Regions from separate parts of the Homo sapiens genome. Here regions 1, 2, 3, 4, 6 and 7 are each linked to region 5. Evidence: promoter capture Hi-C in 16 types of primary human blood cells and fetal thymus (Javierre and others, 2016). All regions are on one chromosome and are shown on one strand. The core of a region is centred on a gene start or on the middle of the fragment in contact, and the rest is flanking DNA. Distances in the headings are between cores, read along the strand shown.

Region 1 (3,127 bases), core at 451-2,950, 1.1 Mb before region 5:
TTTTTTTAATTTGTTATTTGATTTCTTCTGTGACCTATTGGTTTTTAGGCGCATGTTGTTTAATTTCCACATATTTGTGTATTTTTCAAGATTTCTCATCATTGATTCCTCATTTCATGCTATTGTTATCCAAGTAAATATTTCATAGGATTTCAGTCTCCTCAAATTTATTAAGAATTGTTTTGTGGCCTAACATATAATCTATCTGGAGAATGTTCTATGTGCACTTAAGAAGAATATATATTCTGCTGCTATCAGATAGAATGCTATGTACATGCATATTAGGTCCATTTGGTCTACACTGTAATTGAAGTACAATATTTCTTTATTGATTTTCCTTCTATGTATTGAAAGTAGGGTACTGAGGTGCCCCATTATTATAATATTGCAGTCCATCTGTCCTTTTAGATTATTAAATCATTGCTTTATATATTTAGATGTTCCAATGTTAGGTGCATATGTATTTACAATTATGTTGTCCTCTTGGAAAATTAACTCCTTTAGCACTATTTAATGACTTTCTTTGTCTCTTTTTATAGTTTCTGACTTAAAGTCTATTTTGTGTGATATAATTATAGCCACCTCTGCTCCCCTTTGGTTTCTTTTTGCATGGAATATCTTTTCCCATTCTTTTTATTCCATTCCTTTCAATCTATGTGTGTCCTTACTAGTAATGAGTCTCCTACAAGCAGCATATGGTTGGATCTGGTATTTTTTGAAATCCAATCTGCCACTCTATCTTTTATAGGAGAATTTAATCCATTTACACTCAAGGCAATTACTGATAGGTAAGAATCTGCTATTGCCATTTCATAATTGGCTTTCTGATTGTTTTGTAGGTCTTTTGTTTCTTTCTGTCTTGCTATTGCCCTTTGTGGTTTAATGGTTTTCTATGGTTGTATACTTTGAATTCTTTCTTCTTATATTCTGTGCAACTACAATAGATTTTTGCTTTGTGGTTACCATAATGCTTACATAAAATATCTTATCCTTATAACAGGCTACTTTAAATTGATAACAACTTGCTTTTAATAGTATTCAAAAACTATACTTTCACTCTTCCCCATCTTTTATGATTTTGATGTTATAATTTATATTTGTTTTTATACTTTTTGTCCCTTAATAATTTATTATAGCTACAGTTATTCTTAATAGATTTGTCTTTTAACCCCACTAGTAGGGATAACATTGTTTTACATGCCACCCTTACAGTATTAGAATTAGTATGACTACATATGATTTATGTCATCAAGTTTTTTACTTCCTTATTTTGTACTATTAATTAATAGTCATTCATTTCAGTTTAAAGAATTCCCTTTGACAGTTTCTATAAAACAGGTCTGGTGGTGATGGGCTCCCTTAGCTTTTGTTTATCATAAAAAGTTTTTACTTCTCCCTCATTTTTGAAGGATATATTTGTGGATAAAGTGTGCTTGGTTGGCAGGTTTTTTATTTATTTTTGTTTGTTTGTTTGTTTCTTCATTTTTTTCTACCAGCACCTTAAATATACCATCCTTCTCTCTACTGGTCTGTAGGGTTTCTCCTAAGAAATCTGCTGAATACTGTATTAGAGCTGTCTTCAATGTGATGTGTTTCTTATCTTTTGCTTTTCAGTATTTTTATTTCTTTGATTTGTTGTAATTTGATTATGAAATGTCTTGGTAAAGTCCTCCTTGGGTTGAGTTTGATTGTGACCTCTGAGCTTCCTGTAGTAATATCTCCCCAGAATTTTGAAATTTTCAGTCATTATTTTCTTAAAATATGCTCTCTAGTCTTTTTACCTGTTTTCTCCATGAGGACCTCTTATTATGCGAAGGTTAGTTCACTTGATGGCGTCCCATAATTCCTGTAGGCCTTCTTCATTCTTTTTTATTATGTATTTTTTTCTTTTTGTTCCTCTAATTAGATAATTTGAAATATTCTGCTTTAGACCTCACTGATTCTTTTGCTTAAGTCGGCTGTTAAAGCCTTCTAGTGAATTTTTTTAGTTCAGTTATTATATTTTAATCTCCATGACTTGTATTTGCTTTTTATTACTTCTATTTCTTTTTCAAATTTCTCATTTTTGTTCTAAGTTGTTTTCCAAATTTTATTGAATTTTGTATTTGTATTTTCTCATACTTTCTTAAATTTCTTTAAGAGGATTATTCTAAATTACATGTCATTTTATAGATCTTCATTTTTTTCTGGGTCCGTTACTGGAGATTTATTATTTCCTTTCGGTATTATTATGTTTCCCTGAGTTTTCATAATCCTTGTGTCCTTGAATTTATGCCTGTACATTTGATAAATGTCTGTCTTCTCTGGCCTTTGCAGATGTTCTTTGGTGGTGATAGGCCTTTACTATTTAGTTTAGCCTGGGATTTTGTATGGGTTGACTAGTAGCAACATGAAAAAGCAGACTTTGGTGTCAGATTTTCTAGTTGGGCTGGATCATTTCTGTGATCTGAGGTTAAATGGTATTGCTGGTTGTGCTCCATGGTCCATTAAAACCACTAACTGAACTTTGTTGTCAGGTGGGAATGCTGGCTGGTCTCTAATCATCTCTGTTTGAGCAGGGTTGCAGGCTGTCTTCCTTGAATGGGTGGTATTGTTATTTAGAATCTGTACTTGGGCATTTCTATGTGATGGGTTCTGAGGCTGGATGAGGTCTCTAGGTTGCTGCTTGGCCACACAACATGAGCAGGGCCAGAGGCTATGCTCCACAGATACGTGTAGACTTGGGCTTGCCTCCTGGCCTAGGGTATACCTATGCAGAGCACTAAGATTTGGTAAAGCCACCACACTGTGGTTGGCATTGAGTGGGGCCAGATGCTCCCTCTGTGGGTAATTACTGACCTGCAATTGCCTCCATGCTTTGAATACTTAATGGAAACATTTGAACTTAGTTGGAGCACCCTCTTGAGTTGAGTGGGTTCAGATGTTCCCTTTATGGGTAATTGCTTACCTATAGCTACCTCTTGCTCTAGGGAAGACCTAATGAGAGTATCCAGGCTCTGTGGGAAAATTGGTTAGGCGTTTAATTCTAAAAGACCCCTGAACCATGTTTCCTTCAGCGCAATGCTATTGGCTGGTTATTTGGGGTGGCATTGCTGTTGGCTGGAATGTAGAAAAACCACCAAGAACT
Region 2 (2,897 bases), core at 184-2,683, 1.0 Mb before region 5:
GTCCATTTCTCTCCACTAAGAGGTAAGAGCAGAGACCTATTTTCATTCACTAATGTATCAAAAATATCTGACACATAGTTGATGCTCATTAATATTTATTGAATGAGTGAGTTTGCTTGTAGATATCCTCCTAGACAAAGTTGCAAGATTAACTCAGTGGAGAATGCTTATGTCATTCCTTCTGTGAAAAAGAATTACTTTGATCACATCTCGTCACCTATGAGATTCGGTCCAACTCTTCAGTTTCATAATTGGCCCTCAAACTGTGTCTTCGAGCTCCTACTTTTCTTTTATAGTAACTCAATGTGTAATCATAGTGTAACCATAGCAAAGTAATAGCTACGTTCCTTCACATGGTATTCGTCTTTCTAGGCAGCAAGGCTTTCCCTGTGTATTATTTAGCTATGTGGCATAATAAGGCATAAAAATCTGTCTCAAAACCCAGGGCAGTGTCTTAAGGCAACACACATTTTTGGTTTTTCACTTAAGCGTTGTGTGGGGCAGCTTTGATTCAGGCTGGGCTCAGCTGGGATCTGCTGGGCTTGGCTCCAGTTGGTAGGTTGGAATTAGATCAGCTTTGTGTGCCTCCTCATTCTTCCTGGACCAGCAGCTATTCAGAGTATATTCTCTTTCTGGCAGATTATCGAATGCAAGGGGCCACATGCTAGCACATTTATGGGCTCTGCTTGCATCATGACTGCTCCCTTCCACTGACTAAAGCAAGACACATAGTCAAGCCCAATATCAATGTAGTGGAGAAATATGTTCTAACCGAAGGAGAAGAGATAGGTAAGTGGTAGATATGTTCTACCAAAAGATAAAAGAAGTAGATGACAATATTTTCTGATCAACACAGTGTGTATCTCACACATTATTCCTTGTTGGCATATCCATCATGACCTAGCACAAATGTTGCCTACTTTATGAACCCTCTCTATTGCAGTAGGTAGTCAGGTCTGAATTTTGAAATCCAGTGCACTCTGCTTACAGCTATTCATTAAGGCATAGGCTTGTCTCTTCTCCTGGGCTCTAAAGATCTGAGACAATTTCCTATTAAAATTTCTATTCCCAATATCTACCATACAACCTAGCAAGTTATACACTTAATAGATGTCATTTGTATAAGAATGTAGATAATCCCATTAAAGAAAACCAACCCCATTCAGATTCCATCAATGTCAGCTTTGTGTCTATCTGAAATGAGAAAACTACCATATGAAACTTAGTAGATATTGCATTAAATGTAGCACATTTAGGAAGTGTTCCCATATAAAACTGACTAGAAGCAGGTGATTTGAAATTAAATTCCATAATTAAATACCATATAGCATGCTAAAGTGTTCAGTACAATTTGCCAAGGGTTTTTCCACAGAAAGTGATGGAAAATTCTTTGGTAGAAATTGATGTTGAATGTTTAGAGCCTTGACAGAAAGAACTCCTTAGCAGTCAAAAATGTAGAATATTCTTCGCTTTCTCTCAGAGTTCTGCTACAAAAATCTCAGTTTTGTTTCAGTTTTTTTAAATGACACATATAACGTCAATTGACAAATGCCTGAATTTGTTCTAGATGATAATTATTCCATTCATCTACCCATCCTTTCCAACCTACTATCTATTCATTGGTCCATCTCTTTATTTATGTATTCTACCTTTCTGAACTAATTAACCTTAGTTTTATTTAAATTCACTCATAATCCAGTTTAGAATCAATGATTTATGATTTCAATTATATCTTTGCCAATATCCTGACCTGCTATTTCCCTTGGCCTTTTCATTGCTTTCATCTGAATGAAGACTGGATGAGTCCAAGTACTCATTTCCATTATGTCTCCTTGAACCATCTAAACACCATTTTGTTAAACTAAAAAGTCAATTCCCATTCCATTTTCTCCATCACAAATACACTATTGACTTTTAAGATTTATATTTTCAATACTCAATTAATTTCAAAACCACCTCATACAGTGGTTGTCAAGTTTGATCTATGAAAAAAATGATTAGAGCTTGGGATTGCTATCCATAGCATTAGTAGCATGCTGCTTAACCTTATCAGCTGCATGCTCAACAATTATAAAATGAGTACCAACTGAAATAATTTTATATTTAATTTATTTTGGATAATTAGGTTTGATAATTTTTATGATGAAATTTAAGTTTTGTTCTCTCTGTGGAATTCAGGCATGATGTTTCCAGTTCATTCATTTTCTTACCTTCCAATTTATATATCTCTTATCTGGAAGGAACCACAAAACATACATTATTACCAGCTGACATATTCAGATGGATTAATGTACCAGAAAAAAAAAGTTTTCACCTTGGAAAGGAGAGTCAAGTCTTGATGCACTGGGGAGTAAAATGGGTATGTTTTGAAGGAGAAGCAGGATGACAAGAAAATTTCTAGTACAGGAATTATAAAACTAAATGCCTTAAAGGTCAGGAAAAGTTACGCAGGCAAGGTGTTCAAAAAATGCTTGTAAGTAACTGTGGATAAATAGAGTCCCTATGCCACCTAAAAGCATTCCAGTCCTACATATTATGTCAACCAAATAAAATAGCCCAGAATCCCCACTGTGAGGCAACTGGTCCAGAGAATTGAGTTCAGTGGAGAAAAAGAACCCCAAGCAATAAGGCATAGAAGTCAACAAGCATATGTGGTGAGAGGTAAGCCCTCCAGCACAAAGGCATGTCTTTAGTGTTGTCTTATCAACACCAAGAGTTACCACGTTAGAGAATTATGTGCTTAAGGCTTTACATCTTTTATAAATATAAGTTATACTTCAAGGGATAAATTGTCATAATTCCATGCATTATCAAAAATAGAACTAAAATTTCCATAAGCAATAAGAACAATAACAACAAAAAAGGAATATCTGTTGGAACCAGCCTTAGGGATTGAA
Region 3 (3,126 bases), core at 34-2,533, 1.5 Mb before region 5:
GGGAAAGAGTGAAGTTCCAGAAGACAGTTTGTCAAAGAAAGATATCTAGGTTTATGCTCAGAGAAAGCTTTCAGGAGAAGTAATGTTTAAAGGCTAGGGAGAAATAAACTAGATGATGAGGGGAGGGAGGTGACCTCCAGGACAAGAGAGTATTTTATCAGAACACGCTCAGGTACTGTGGGGCAGGGTGTAGCATGTCATAGAACTGAAGGAAGGATTGTGTATGGCGAATAAAGGGGGAGTGTGGTGGGAGCCCAGATCAAAGAGATAGACACACCCAGACACTGAGCAAAACCTGGCCTTGTAGGCTTGTGTAAGGATTTCAGTCTTTATCTCAGGGACAATGGGGATCCACTAAAGAGTTTTAACCAGGGGGCTCAGAGTAAAGGGTCTGAGGCTGAAAGGGGTACAGAGTGGATACAGAGCCACCATTTAGGAGGCTGCTGTGGCAGTTAGGCTAGAGATAATATTGGCTTAGCCTGGGATAATGGCCAAGGTGGTGGGAGATGTGGGGAGTTCTTTGGGCAGGCACATACAGAAAGGAAGGAAAAACAGAAGACTTGGAGAATTTCTGGATGAACTTGTATAAGCATGATGCTAGCAGAGGAAGTTTAAAATGAGAGCCCAAATCACAGTTTGCTTGGCCTTGCCCATCCTAGAAACTAATTAGAAAAATGAGATAAATAAATATTTTGAAGTATGAGAAAGAGCAAAACACTTTCCTCTTCTACAAACCCATCTCACTTTGAAGAGGAGAAAAATCAGTGATTTTGTTTAGTCCCTTGAGTAATGAGAGCTGTGGGTGGTCACAGTTAGAGGTCTGAAGCCTCCTCTAACTCTACAGGAGCTGGATTGTACTAAAATGTCAGATCAGTCTGGAGGGGAAATGAATCAGAACAGCTGAAATGCAGAATTTTTGCTGTGTTCTCCCTTACCTAAGGGACAGCCATGGCTTTGCAACCGTTAACTTTCCTTGAAAAGGAATTCAGACTGCCTCTGAAAGATCTGCAGAGCTGTGAAGGCTGAAAAGCAAGTTATTCTTGCAAAGGTCTTTAAGTAAAACTGGCTGCTAAAAAACAACAACAACAAAACTATTCTTCCCTTGACATAGTCAACTTAAAAAAATTGTAATGGAGCCTTCTTAGCTTTTAAATTGAGGAACAAGTGGGTAAGAACAAACCAGAATCAAATAGTAAAGCAGGAGTTCCTTCTTCCTTTTCTTTCAATGCCCTTGCTTTCTCCCCACTATGCTGCCACAACTCCTACATCTTTTTAGATGCTTTTGTTTTCCAGGGACTGAATTCTCACTTCCCTGCTCAAGGGATCATCTCAACTTGTTATTCTCCTTAGAGTAATTTTTACAAGAACATGTTTATCATATTAGGAACAAATGTGTTTGGAACTGGGGTGTTTTAAACTCTCTGTTAATGCACAATGCTTTTCGGCAGCTGGCTAACTCCTAGCAAACTTGGCCTTACAAGAGGTCACCAGAATTAGGTACTAGGACTATGTACCAACCATGTACTAGGCACAGCTTATAAATACCTATTAAAGTGAAACCCACCCAGTATTCAGTTAGCAGTATGGGTGATTTGGTGAATTAAATCCATAATGAAATCCTATCAAAATCTCTCCCTCCCCACTGATCTATCAGAATTGCTAAAGAGCTCAGCTAACAAGCCTGTGTGCGACAGTTCAGTGTTATGCACAATCTGCTTTCTTTGGTCTTACTGTTGCAGAGAAATGGCAGGAAGTTAGGTATAAGGATTAAAAATAGGAGCATATAGACCAAATGTAGGCTGTTGACCTTTAAAAAAACTGATGCCTAGTTACACTAGAAGAATGTTATACAAGTATTTCTTTTATAATTGAAACATCTGCATGAATGCTTTCTTTTCTTCCACATATACATAATTTAGACATCTTAATTACAGTTGTATGCTTTGGGGTTTGATTGTAAAAAAACCAGGATGTCTTTTTGTCTGTTCTCCCTGATGTCAAAAAATTGATTACAAATTTTATAAACTGGTTTTTCTCAGTGAGGAAATTTCTTGTCTAATTTTAGCACCCCCCAACCATTCCTAAAACCATCGTCCCATGGATCTCCATGAATCGAACTGCATACGTGCACATCTCTCATTTGCATCTTTTCCTGATATTCATAAAACCTCCCACAAGTGAAAGGAAGGAAAGTGATACTCATGGATTGGTTTCCTGCCCACCATCAAGGCCTGGGATCATAAATAAAGTCTGGGGCTCCACTTGCTGCAGAGACACAGTAGATGGCAGTGTGCAACACAGAAGTGTGAGATTCCCGACCGTCTCAGCCTTGGATGGGCAACTGACTGGGAGGAGGTTGAATCTCTGGGCACGGATGCTGTTTTTCCAGCCTAGTCAGAGAGAGAGGTTGTCTTCCTAGGAAATGCTTTTTCTGCATAAACTTGGTTTTGCTGATTCAGTCAACTGCAGTTATTTGGGCTACTTTGGCACCAAAGAATGTTAAGCTTCTTTAAGCCTGAAAAATGTCTGTACTTCAAAACTCTACTTAAATGCATAAAATAATCTTTCACTTATATGATATGCTTCACTTGTCACTTATATGAACCTCCTTGTGCTTCATATTTTATTAATTTTATTAAAACAAGATCACTATGGATAACCTACAGATAAGCACTCTGGACATTTCATAAGCACATGTTGGATACACCAGGACTTGGTGGTTTGACTTTTCAGCATCGTAGGTGGACTAATATGAGTACCCCCATATACTCTCAAAGACCATATTTAATTAGGTGACTGTGTTGGATATTTTAAATCATTTTTATATTTCTGCATTATATGTTCCCCAAAATTTAGTAGTAATTCCTCAATAGACTTAAAGTATATTTAAACTTTTTTTTATTATAGAAGGTACAGGCGACTGGGGTCATTTTGCTGAATATTAAAATTACTTTCTTAATATAATTACTTTCTTATTATAAGCAAATAAATCATTTCTAGTATGATACTTATTATTAAACATTAGCAAAGGAGACCTTACTCAGCACCAGTAACAGATATTTTTAAAAAGAGAATTTCCCGAGAGGAAGAGGTCTCAGAGGAAAGGAGATATGTCGTATACAAATC
Region 4 (2,996 bases), core at 127-2,626, 1.1 Mb before region 5:
CAGATAGTTGGCTTTTAGTGTTGGTACAGGAAATATCAGCTTAGTCTCAGCTTCTCTGTTAATAAAAAATGTGTAAAATTCAAATTTTTGGTAATTTAAGCACATTTGTACTGAGTCATAATCACTAATCACTTTGGCATCTTAGGAAGATTAAACATTGAATCTGATGATAAAATAAAATGTGTTAGGATTAACTGCCAGATATTTGGGCCAATAGCTCTTGGGTCCTGAAAAATGACTTGATTCGAAGGGCTTAAGTCATTGGTAATTAGTGGGAGGAGGATAGTTGTGAGCCAGTTTCCTTTTTCCTTCATCCTGTTTCTCTCCATTTCATTTAAAGGACTTGAAAGTGTTCACATGGTCTCTTTAGGTCTTCTGCAAGGTAAGAATAGATTTTAAGGTAATAATGCATCAGAATAATGCTGAGAGAAGTAATTCATATTAGTGAAGCCAAAAGTTTACCTTACATTCATTTCACTCTAAAGCAAAAGGTGCACCAGAGTGAAACAAGACTTGACCTTGCTGATATAGTTACTAGTATCTCAGTGACAGTGATGCCCAGTGGAAGCCAGGAACCCATGCAGGTGTGTGCTTGTGTGTGGGTAGAGATGGAGAAGTATGAGGGAAAGGGAAGATGTAAAAAAAATGGGGGGGGGGAGATAGGAATATAAAGGGCACTTTGAATGCTTAATCAAAAGGGACTTTGGCATAACCAAAGGGCAGCCACATGGGAAGAATAAGAAATGTTTGTACCACCCTCTAGGTTTCAACAGTGTACCTAAGAATCTCTTGAATAAGATGGAGTCTTTTCTGGTAAGGATGAAGCCTGTGTAATTTACTTGTGCCTATAGACACTAAAGTCAAAATTACATTTGGTGCATATCCTACTTTCTCAGGAGCTAAACCTGGACATACATCTGGAGGCATCAATAGGTTTGATTTGAGAAGCTTTATACAACAGCTGGTAATAGTAGCCGACAAATTGAGTTTAAAACATCTGACTTTAAAACCCCTGTCACTATGTCAGAGGCATTTAAACCAGGGTGACTCTGTCTTGAACAGGGGCTAGGTAAACTGAGGTTGAGACCTATTGGGCTGCATTCCCAGGAGGTTAGGCATTCTAAGTCACAGGAAGAGAGAGGAGGTCAGCACAAGATCCAGGTCACAAAGACCTTGCTGATAAAACAGGTTTCAGTGAAGAAGCCAGCCCCAAATCCCACCAAAAACAAGATGGTCATGAAAGTGACTTCTGGTTTTCCTCACTGCTCATTATACACTAACTGTAATGCATTAGCATGCCTAAAAGACACTCCCACGAGTGCCATGATAGTTTGCAAATGCCACGGAAATGTCAGAAAGTTACGCTGCATAGTCTACAAAGGGGAGGAACCCTCAGTTTTGGGAATTGTCCACCTCTTTCTTGGAAAACTCCTGAATAATCCACCCATTGTTTAGCATATAATCAATAAATAACTATTAAGTATTATCAGTCGAGCAGCCCAAGCTGCTGCTCTGCCTATGGAGTAGTCATTCTTTATTCCTTTATTTCTCTAATAAACTTGCTTTCACTTTATGGTCACTGCCTCGAATTCTTTTTGAATGAAAACCTTCTCTTGGGGTCTGGATAGGGACCCCTTTTTGGTAACACCTTTAGTGAACCAGCTAAGGTACATTGGATACTTGTCAGTGAGTATAAATAATGTTAATTTGTTAAAACTTTCCCATTTTTAAGAGCTCCTCTGACAAACTAGAGTCATAGACAGTCTCCAGTGCCAGAGAAAATTACACACGTGAAGAAGTAGCTGCAAGCTTTTGCCATTGAAGTGTCTTCTCAATTAAAGATGGAGCACTGGCATGATAGCAGACAGTTCAAAGCACGCACACTATATAGATCTGGTCAAACCAACTCTGATGAACTTTTTACTCAGAATTTCAACTGAAAGAAACCACATTCCCAAATGTTGCTTAATAGATAAAACACGGGAGATCAATTTTGCCTGAATTTGTATTAGTGCTCCATGAAATTATGATACCATCACACCTCTATCCCTGTTATTAGGATATGCTTTCTTGAAATTTTATTTCATTTTTGAGAAGAATGATGCAGACTTTTTTTCTGTCAACAAAGAATCATCATAGACAATGTAAGCCTCAGAGACACTTATCTTGACAATTTTTTTTAACAAAAGGCTACACTTGTAATTTTCAAAATAACCTCACTAACCCATGAAAAATATTATTTTTAGATTTATATAATGATGCATAATGACTCTTCTCTGATAAGCTTTGGTTTCATCATCCATCAACAAAAGGAACTCTTTTTGTTCCTTTAGTATTTAAACACTTTTATTATTAGACACTTTTAATAAGCTTATATAAGGTTTTAGTACAAATATTACCATTAATCTTGCTGTGTCTATCTACTATGAAAGATAAAAGCTAGTTTCAAATCAGAACTGTAAAACAAAATTTGTTACTGTTACAGAACATATTTTAATTTACACCCATATTTTAAAACTGGATATGTATAAAAATGCTATGAAAGGTTAAAATTCTAAACAAGTAGAACACATGAAGAACATGTTCACTCCTTATCTAAATACAGGCTTTAAATCAGCATCAAAACCACTTTTAAAAATAGATCATAGGAATAATCAATATCATAAAAATGGCCATATTACCCAAAGTAATTTATAGATTCAGTGCTATTCTCATCAAGATACCATTTACTTTCTACACAGAATCAGGCAAAACTACTTTGAATTTTATATGGAACCATAAAAGAGCCCATATAGCGAAGACAAGCCTAAGCAAAAAGAAAAAAGCTGGAGGCATCATGCTACCTGACTTCAAACTACACTACAAGGCTTCAGTAACCAAAAGAGCGTGGTACTGGTACCAAAACAGATATATAGACCAATGGAACAGAACAGCAGCCTCAGAAGTAACACCACACATCTACAACCATCTGGTCTTCGACAAACCTGACCAAAAAA
Region 5 (2,867 bases), core at 365-2,864:
GGGAATATGACCATGGTCGAATAATGCATCTGAAGGAACTGGACAGTGAGAAGACGAAGCTTCACGTAACAATGTTCAGCTTGGTGATTTTTAAAGCAACGCTTGAACAAAGAGTTACTGGCTTGAACCAACCGTCTTTTTCACTCAGAGTGTGACCTATTTCCCTACAATGAGCAGAAAATAAAACTGTTTGAGAATTCAGAGCCAGCACCAGGAGAAATGAACCATTCCCTCGACTGCTTCTCACCTTCATAAGCGAAAGATTATTCCTTGCAAGATCACCAAATGTAAACGAGAAAAGGTGGTCTGATTTTGCCACGAGTGAAAACTTTGGGAAGAAAATGCTTATTAAGCTGTTTCCTTGGTTCCCCTCACCCCTCATACTTTAAGTCAGTGCCTTGTCTCTCACGCACAAAAAGCGTCTGGTACTTCGGTGGCAAGGAGTGCAGTGACAGATGGAGGTATCCTGTGTACCATTATAGAAGGTTTTCCTCTAACCCAAGTTAGACTTGGAGAGCTCAGGGATCTTGCTATCTCTCAACATACAGAACATTTCTCCTTAGAACTGCAATCCGGTTTAGAATGTCATCGTTGCTGCTGCCTCCCTTCCTTTCAGGAGCACATTCGCCTGCGTGCGCACTCACACACACGTTCAAAAAGAGTCCATTCGATTCTGGCAGTAGGCTGAAAACGATCCATATTGACGCGAATAACATCCCAACTGTAAATATGGATTCGTCTACTCGAGGCTGTGTCTCATTTCACCATAGAGGAAAATTATGTCATTTAAAACAGTGATAAAACGCGAAGAGTTTCGATCTTCTGTAAATGGCTCTCACTTTGAATTGTGGGGGAAAAAAATCACTAATTGGGAATAGCCAGAGAAGGGGGAATTTGTTGAGCGCCCAAGGCCAATCTCAAAATATTTTATTTCATGCCAATGTGGGAGAGGGAAGGGAGTGTGGCTTCGCTGTTTGCCGCTTTTGCATTTTCCACATCTGGCCTACAGACCTAATTCTAACTTGCGATCTCGCTTGATGAAATTCGATCTTCGTGGTTTAAATACCTTTCAATTTGGGACGATTTAACCATTGCAGCAGTTCAAAAAACAAACCCTGAGCATTATCTGTAAAACCAATATGGAAAAAAGAAAGAAAACATGCTGCAAACACACAAATCGCAACCATTGTCTTTAACACTCGCATACACACACATACACATAAACACACGGAAAGATGGGGGAGGGGAGCGAGTGGAGAGAGAGAGACACACGGATATAGACCGACGAGAGTCAATGCGAGTCAAGTTAACGCTTTCTCCGCCCCGATGCACAAGTACCCCCCTCCCGTGTTAATTAATTCCAAACAAAGCAAGCCAATCAAGAAATGCATTATTATTTTCAAGCAGAGAGAGACGAGTGCCATGTATTTTTTAATTGATTTATTTATTTGGAGGACATTAATTCTCGGTCTGAGGCTGATTTTCAAACCGTTTGCAAAGCGCGGCTCCATTGTTCGCCAGGCGCGCAGACCCCGCCCCCTGCTTTGTGTGCGGCGCGCGGATTGGCCGACGCGCGCGGGGGCCGCGTCAGCGCCCGCGAGCCCATTCATCTGTGCACTTGGGCGTTGGACCCCGCATCTTATTAGCAACCAGGGAGATTTCTCCATTTTCCTCTTGTCTACAGTGCGGCTACAAATCTGGGATTTTTTTATTACTTCTTTTTTTTTCGAACTACACTTGGGCTCCTTTTTTTGTGCTCGACTTTTCCACCCTTTTTCCCTCCCTCCTGTGCTGCTGCTTTTTGATCTCTTCGACTAAAATTTTTTTATCCGGAGTGTATTTAATCGGTTCTGTTCTGTCCTCTCCACCACCCCCACCCCCCTCCCTCCGGTGTGTGTGCCGCTGCCGCTGTTGCCGCCGCCGCTGCTGCTGCTGCTCGCCCCGTCGTTACACCAACCCGAGGCTCTTTGTTTCCCCTCTTGGATCTGTTGAGTTTCTTTGTTGAAGAAGCCAGCATGGGTGCCCAGTTCTCCAAGACCGCAGCGAAGGGAGAAGCCGCCGCGGAGAGGCCTGGGGAGGCGGCTGTGGCCTCGTCGCCTTCCAAAGCGAACGGACAGGTAAATTCTACCTGTGGTTGTGGTCATTTATTTCGTGTCTTTCTCTCCTTCCCTCCTGGTGGCTCCCAAGGCTCATTCGTGGAGAGGAGTGTGGCTGGATTCTAGTCTGAAAGTTGAATGGAAATGGATAGCCTAAATTGTGGATTTTTCATAGCCGGGGTCCCCCCACACCAAAGGAGTGGTTCCTTAGAATCCTGGAGAATTCTTGAGTAGACGGGAGGAAAGGAGTGATAAATCGTCTAAAATGGCGTGGTTTGGAGATTGGCAGAACGTGACTAGCTAGGTGCCCTCCTTCCCCCGCCCCCAGCCAGGTTTCATTTGTGTTTGGGGGCACAATGGTGTTTGGGTGTCTCTCGGGTTTGTTGTCGAAGCTGGATTGTCTTCGAGATTTCTGAACTGGTGGTGTGATTGTGTGTGGCGGGGGGGGGAGTCGGGAAAGGGGGGCGCAATGGGGATGGTGGTGGAGAAAGGCGAGGAGGGAAAGGCTGTCTTATTGTATGCCGCGGCGGCGTGCCCTGGGTTCTTGGAAAGGTGGCTGGCTGGGGCCAGACAGAGGGCTTCGGTACCTTTTGATGAGGCTTTCCCACTGTCCTAAATCTTTATTCGTAGCTGTCTGTGGAATTACACATCCATTTGATTTTTAAATGGTATCTGTGGGGTGGGAACACTCGGTGGGTCCTTTAAGAACCTTTCCAGATGGTCAAAAAGAGGCGGTTCGTGCCTTTCGGTCGGGATTGTTCTTGTGCGTGG
Region 6 (2,890 bases), core at 365-2,864, 1.0 Mb before region 5:
TAAATAAATTATTCGAGTATGTTTTACATTTATCTTGATTTTTATTTTCTCTAAAATTATTACTTAGTGACAGGCAAACACTACTAGCATTATTTTATGTAGCACTAAATGATAGAAAAGAGAGATTTATATATAGCCCAGAAGCTTCAGGGAGATGAAGCAGATACTATCCATAGAAGTGTCGTAGACTCGCTTAGCAAATGTTTTCGCAGTTAAAATGGAATCAAAGTGCTTATTTACCTCAGAGGAGTTAAACCCATAAGTCCACTAATAGTAATTTTGTGAATGTTGAAACTGTGTTCAATTTTGATAAAAGATGCTTTAATGAATCCTCCTGCATTCACTCATTACAGAAGGCATGCCTGTGTTCTCCTTATGTGCCAACAGAAAAACTTTCACTGCAAGAGAGAAAAAAAACCCTGGCATTTAAATTCAGTATAAAATTTTTTCTTTTTGTCCTGAGATTGGAAAACTATTAGTGTTGAGTTAATGTACTGACCAGTGTAGAAATAGAATCTGAAAATGGTTCTAATTCTCTCTTTTATTTATGTACTTTTGTGCACATACACTTATCTATGATAACTATCTATTTTATAAACTCAGAAGAAATGAAAAGCAAATCAAATAAAGCTGGTTTAAATAATTTGAGACTGAAATAATGCAGTAATTATAATTTCTGTGTATGGATGGAATGTATCTCCCAAATAATAACCTCCAAACCCATGTGGCCAACAATTGGAAAATCACTGTCATGCACCATAAGACATCAGCCATTAGTTCCTGCTCATGTGCCATTTGCCATTTCTTTGGGTTATGCAGTGCAGCAATGCTGAGTATACTCTTTGATGTTATCTCTCTGAATCCTGCTTGTTGCAAGCTCATCACACTTTTGGCTGACTCTGAAAAATGGCAGCTAGCTTTGGGGTCGATAGTGGGAGGGAAGGGTGCTTAGCTACTTTTAAGCTACAAAGAATATGCTAAATCATGCTTCAGTGTGGCATGAAATCAGAGTGTTACTGGAGATAACAAAAAACAAAAAAGCAGAAAACAAATAAGCTGTCATAAACTGCTCTAGGATGATTCAATTTTTCTACTTACAAATGCTATCTATAAAAGATAAAATATAAAGTACATAGTAAGCCTTTCAGCCTGCATATGTTGGTAATGAAGAAGAATGCTATGTTGCATGTAATGGAGGGCTGGAACATTAATGTTCAAGTGTCAGGCCACTTTCATTGCTTGTTCCAAAATATAAATGAGTGATACAGAAGAGAGTATAGTTAAAAAATACTGTAGTGATAGATAACCATGTGAAAATCAAGAATTGCTTTGACATATTAAATATAATTTTAATAGCATATTAATTGTTAGATCTTATGTAATTAATAGCATCACAGGGCACCTACATATATATTTATTTGATGCTTTCATCAACCCTATTTTGTAGGCATTACTCTTGTTTTCAGATGAGGAGGTCAACTAGTAGGCTAAATGACTTGCCTAAGATTGCACAGACAAAAAGCAGGAGCCGTGGGTTAAGGCTCAGAACTTCTACTTCAAGAACATGACCCTGTGCTTGGAATCTGGTCTTTGAGGCCAGAAGACCAACTGAGTGTGCTCAGTTGTTTAAGACACTTTGGCCTTTGGAATGCTTCAAATCCATTATTTTATTTATTTGTTTTATTTTTATTTTTAGAGATGGGATCTCACTCTTTTTGTCCAATCTAAAGTGCAGTGGTGCAATCATAGCTCACTGCAGCCACCAGCTCCTGGGCTCAAGAGATCATCTTGCTTCAGCCTCCTGAGCAGCTGGGACCACAGGTGTGTGCCACCATGCCTGGCTATTTTTTTGTAGAGATGGGGGTCTCACTTTGTTGCCAAGGGTTGTCTCTGTCCTCAAGCAATCCTCCCACTTCGGCCTCCCAAAGTGTTGGAATTAAGCCGTGAGCCATGGCACCAAACCCTGAATCCATTTTATCGTAAGTGGTTGACTTATCCAATTCTAGCATTGGCATAACGCTCTGGCTGTTTGCACATTATGCCAAACATACTTGTTGAGAAAGGAATGCCATTTTGGAATAACACTGTCCAATATGTGAATTATTAAAGATAAAATAATATTTTACAAATTCACTTTATATATTCAACTACCCTAAGACTTAACGCAAATCTTCTATTTTTTTTCCTTTTTTTTTTCATGAGATCCATGAGGGATGATTGCTCAGTTCTTCAAAACATGCCTACCAGCATTCTTTCACAGAGACATGAGACATAACCTTTCTCTTCTTTAAAAGTCCTTATTCAGCGCCACTTCCTCCAGAAAGTTTACTCCATCTCCTAGTCAAAGCAGCCTTGGACCACCAAGTCTACCATATTCTGCATTTTCCCATAGGTAAAGAATTATTTCTGCAAAGCTGATATGTTGCTTAGGTCTCTGTTGCTTCAATTTTGAGGTATAAAATATCCTGGTCTATTTTCGATGTTTTCTCAAGCCTTCTTTAAAAAATTCCAGCTATGCTGAATTTCTTAGAAATTAGTTTTTCATTTTCAGACACAAAATAATTTTAGCAGCTAGCTTTTACTGCATCTAGATACTTGTCTAAATTTTACTGGATTTACATATATCTGCAAGCCTTGAGGCTCTGAAACCATAATGTGTCTCTCTTTCTTGCTTTTGCTGACCCACAAATATGAATCTTTTAAGTTCCACTTCAAATGCTGTATCTCTTTTTGAAAGACAAAAAAAAAAATTCCTAATTTGAAGGAAGTTTACCTCCCAGGTACCAATATCTTTCAAACACTAAGAAACTAAAAAAGAAATACCATTTTTATATTTTCCATTGTCACCCATATATTAATATTTTTTGTTCACATATTTTGACTTTGCTAG
Region 7 (2,847 bases), core at 90-2,589, 1.1 Mb before region 5:
AACATGTAAAATTCTGCCTCCATGCAATTTTCATTGAAGAAACAGCTAACTGAATTGGATTTCTGATTTATAAAGCAAGTCCTTTATGTTCTTCAAAGAGCTTACCCCAAAGGACCAACTGATAACATAGCCCTGTTGTAAAATAATTCATTATAAAGGTCTGAAACAGGAGCTTTCCACCCTATCAGCTAGACGCATGTGCCCTAGTGATATTATCCCTCTCGGGAGGTTTTGAGCATCTTTGGTTCATTTTGCTCTATAGCTTTTACCATGCAATCTGTATTTGTGTTTTCATAACTGCCTCAGACTATACTATTGCCTCCAGAGACAATCTCAAATTAGAAAAAAATGTGTTACTAAAAAAAATCTTCACACTTTCTGAGTTTTTCTTATTTCAATGTGAAATATTTCTGCTTTTGGGCAGTTATGTTTGACTTACCAAGTAAGAAGATGACAACCTTACTTATCAAGTAAGAAGATGCATAAACCAAAATTTTATAATAGTATTGTACTTCATGGGACTGTAAAATTTAGTGAAATTTCAGAGAGGAACTATTGTCACTTTATTCTGGATGAAAAAGCTAAATATATCTAAAGGCTGCTTTTCTTTGAAGATATATTTTAATTATTATAAAAATATTTAGATGTAATGAACGATAGCACTTTTTTTAAACAACTGTGGTAAAATATAATGTATATATAACAAAATTCATCATTTAAAGTATGCAAGCAGATATTGGTAAATTTATGTAGTCAAATAACTACCACCTAAATCACTGTTTGGCAAATTTCCATCATCTAAAAAGTGTTTTTGGCTATCTTCCCCTTACCTCACCCTTGGCCTCTTATCTACTTTCCATCATTATAGTTTTGGCTTCTTGAATTTCATAAAATGAAATCATACAGGATGTAGTATTTTGTGTCTGATTTTTTTCAGTCACCAAAGTGCTTTTGAAATACACCAATGTTGTATGTTTCAGTAGTTCATTCTTTTTTATTGCTCAGTAGTATTCTATTGTTTTGAGTTTGTTTATTCATTCACAAGTAAGTGGACATTTTGTCTAGTTCCAGTTTGGGGCTATTGTGATTACAGCTGTTATGAACATTCGCAAACAATTTTCTATGATCATATGTTTCATTTTTTCTTGAGAATATCTAGAAGTGGAGTGACTGGATCTTATGATAAATGTGTATTTATCTCTGCATATTAAAAAAAAATACCTGCCAAAGTATTTTCCCAAAGGTCAGTACCATTTTGCACTCACACTAACACCATTGTGTTTGAATTGTTCCATATCTTTGCTATCATGATGAATTTTATGTGTCAACTTGACTGGGCTAAGGGATGCCCACATAGCTGGTAAGAATTTATTTCTAGGTGTGTCTGTGAGGGCATTCCTGAGAGATATTAGCATTTGAATTGATAGACTGAATAAAGATTACCCTTATCAATATGAGTTGGCACCATCCAACCTTTTAAGGGCCTGGATAGAACAAAAAGGCAGAGGAAGGATGAATTGGCTATCTCTTCTTGAGCTGGAACATCTGTTGTTTCCTGCCCTTGGTCATCAGTGCTCCTAGTTCTTGGGCCTTTGGACTCACACATGCACTTCCACCATTGGCTTTCCTGGTTCTCAGGCCTTCAGGCTTGGACTGAAACTACATTACCGGCTTTCCTAGTCTCTAGTTTGCAGATGACATATTATGGGACTTCTTACCCTCCACAGTCTCATGAGCCAATCCCTCATAATAAATCTTTTTCTATGTATTTATATATTTTCCTTTTGGTTTTGTTTCTCTGAAGAACCCTAATACTCTTGCCAACAATTAGCAATGTCGTTACATTTAATTTTAACCTTTCTATTGTATATAATGGTAGTATCTCATTGCAATTTTAATTTGCATTCTTTAATAACAAATAATATTGAACATCGTTATATACTTATATGCCGCTTACATATCTTATTTCCTAAAGTATTTGTTCAAATATATGCCCATTTTTAACAAGTTCATTAGTTTCCTCATTTTGAGATTTAAGAATCCTTTGTGTTCTGAGTACAAGTTCTTTGTCAGATATATAATGCACAATTATTTTCTTCCAATCCATCAGATGCCTTGTCATTTTCTTAATGGACTATTTTGAAAAGCATTTAAACAAAATTTATGAAATCTAATTTGACAATTATATTTCTTTTAAGATTTATGTTTTTGTAGCCTATTTAAGAAATATTTATATAACCTTATGACAGAAAGACACTCTGCTCTTTTTGTTCTAGAAATTTTGGACATATGATACATTAAAGTTAATATTTGTATATAATGTGAAATAAGGGCCATAATTCATGTTGCTCCCCTCCCCCTTTTTGTTGCATGTAAGTTCCAGTGGTCTGACTATTGAAAAAACTCTCATCATTGTATTACCTCCAACTTGGAATTTTCTTTGTAGGAAGGCTTTTAAATAAGAGTTCAATTTCCCTGTACATATAGCTTTTTCACATTACTTTTTCTTCCTCAGTGAACTTCTAATTTATGTTTCCTAAGGTCTTTGTCCACTTCACCTAAGTTTTCAAGTTTTGAGGCATAAAGATGTCCATAACATTTCTTTATTATTTGTGAGCTTTTCTGTTCTTTCCTGATACTGCTAATTTGTGTTCTTTTTTCTTAATCAGTCTGGCTAGATATTTATAAATTTTATTGATATTTTCCAAGAACCAACTTTTGCCTTCAGCAACTTTTTTCTATTGCTTTTCTGCTTTCTATTTTATTAACTTGTATTCTTTTCTTTATTATTTATCTTCTTCCACTTATTTTGTGAATAATTTTCTCTACTTTTTTCAGTTTCTTATG

Evidence for each region. Contacts are between HindIII fragments. The CHiCAGO score rates a contact against its expected background, and 5 or more counts as called.
Region 1: a fragment that was not itself captured here is called in contact with the fragment with the promoter of MARCKS in region 5 in 5 of 17 cell types (neutrophils, megakaryocytes, naive B cells and 2 more); the score reaches 12.4 in neutrophils.
Region 2: a fragment that was not itself captured here is called in contact with the fragment with the promoter of MARCKS in region 5 in 1 of 17 cell types (megakaryocytes); the score reaches 5.3 in megakaryocytes.
Region 3: a contact is called between a fragment that was not itself captured here and the fragment with the promoter of MARCKS in region 5, in 1 of 17 cell types (megakaryocytes). The highest score is 5.1, in megakaryocytes.
Region 4: a fragment that was not itself captured here is called in contact with the fragment with the promoter of MARCKS in region 5 in 5 of 17 cell types (megakaryocytes, M2 macrophages, erythroblasts and 2 more); the score reaches 15.9 in megakaryocytes.
Region 6: a contact is called between a fragment that was not itself captured here and the fragment with the promoter of MARCKS in region 5, in 1 of 17 cell types (erythroblasts). The highest score is 5.7, in erythroblasts.
Region 7: a fragment that was not itself captured here is called in contact with the fragment with the promoter of MARCKS in region 5 in 1 of 17 cell types (megakaryocytes); the score reaches 5.9 in megakaryocytes.

What each region holds. Positions count from the first base shown.
Region 1 is chr6:112,792,147-112,795,273 of GRCh38, forward strand. The region is part of intron 1 of LOC107986634 (a long non-coding RNA gene); the gene reads right to left. Among named protein-coding and RNA genes, the nearest start is that of RFPL4B, 450 kb to the left of the region's middle. The HindIII fragment of the contact is 6,537 bases long and covers 1-3,127 here.
Region 2 is chr6:112,834,726-112,837,622 of GRCh38, forward strand. All of the region lies in intron 1 of LOC107986634 (a long non-coding RNA gene), which reads right to left. Among named protein-coding and RNA genes, the nearest start is that of RFPL4B, 490 kb to the left of the region's middle. The HindIII fragment of the contact is 5,516 bases long and covers 1-2,897 here.
Region 3 is chr6:112,335,075-112,338,200 of GRCh38, forward strand. No RefSeq gene overlaps it. Among named protein-coding and RNA genes, the nearest start is that of RFPL4B, 11 kb to the right of the region's middle. The HindIII fragment of the contact is 2,437 bases long and covers 66-2,502 here.
Region 4 is chr6:112,773,197-112,776,192 of GRCh38, forward strand. The region is part of intron 1 of LOC107986634 (a long non-coding RNA gene); the gene reads right to left. Among named protein-coding and RNA genes, the nearest start is that of RFPL4B, 430 kb to the left of the region's middle. The HindIII fragment of the contact is 861 bases long and covers 947-1,807 here.
Region 5 is chr6:113,855,731-113,858,597 of GRCh38, forward strand. It overlaps MARCKS (myristoylated alanine rich protein kinase C substrate), which reads left to right and starts at 1,615. Exons shown (of 2, transcript NM_002356.7): 1 at 1,615-2,117. The coding sequence starts at 2,016. RefSeq lists enhancers at 370-429, 450-499, 770-1,315, 1,316-1,859, 1,647-1,696. The HindIII fragment of the contact is 4,373 bases long and covers 484-2,867 here.
Region 6 is chr6:112,808,414-112,811,303 of GRCh38, forward strand. The region is part of intron 1 of LOC107986634 (a long non-coding RNA gene); the gene reads right to left. Among named protein-coding and RNA genes, the nearest start is that of RFPL4B, 460 kb to the left of the region's middle. The HindIII fragment of the contact is 2,944 bases long and covers 143-2,890 here.
Region 7 is chr6:112,755,262-112,758,108 of GRCh38, forward strand. The region is part of intron 5 of LOC105377949 (a long non-coding RNA gene); the gene reads left to right. The region is part of intron 2 of LOC107986634 (a long non-coding RNA gene); the gene reads right to left. Among named protein-coding and RNA genes, the nearest start is that of RFPL4B, 410 kb to the left of the region's middle. The HindIII fragment of the contact is 3,023 bases long and covers 1-2,847 here.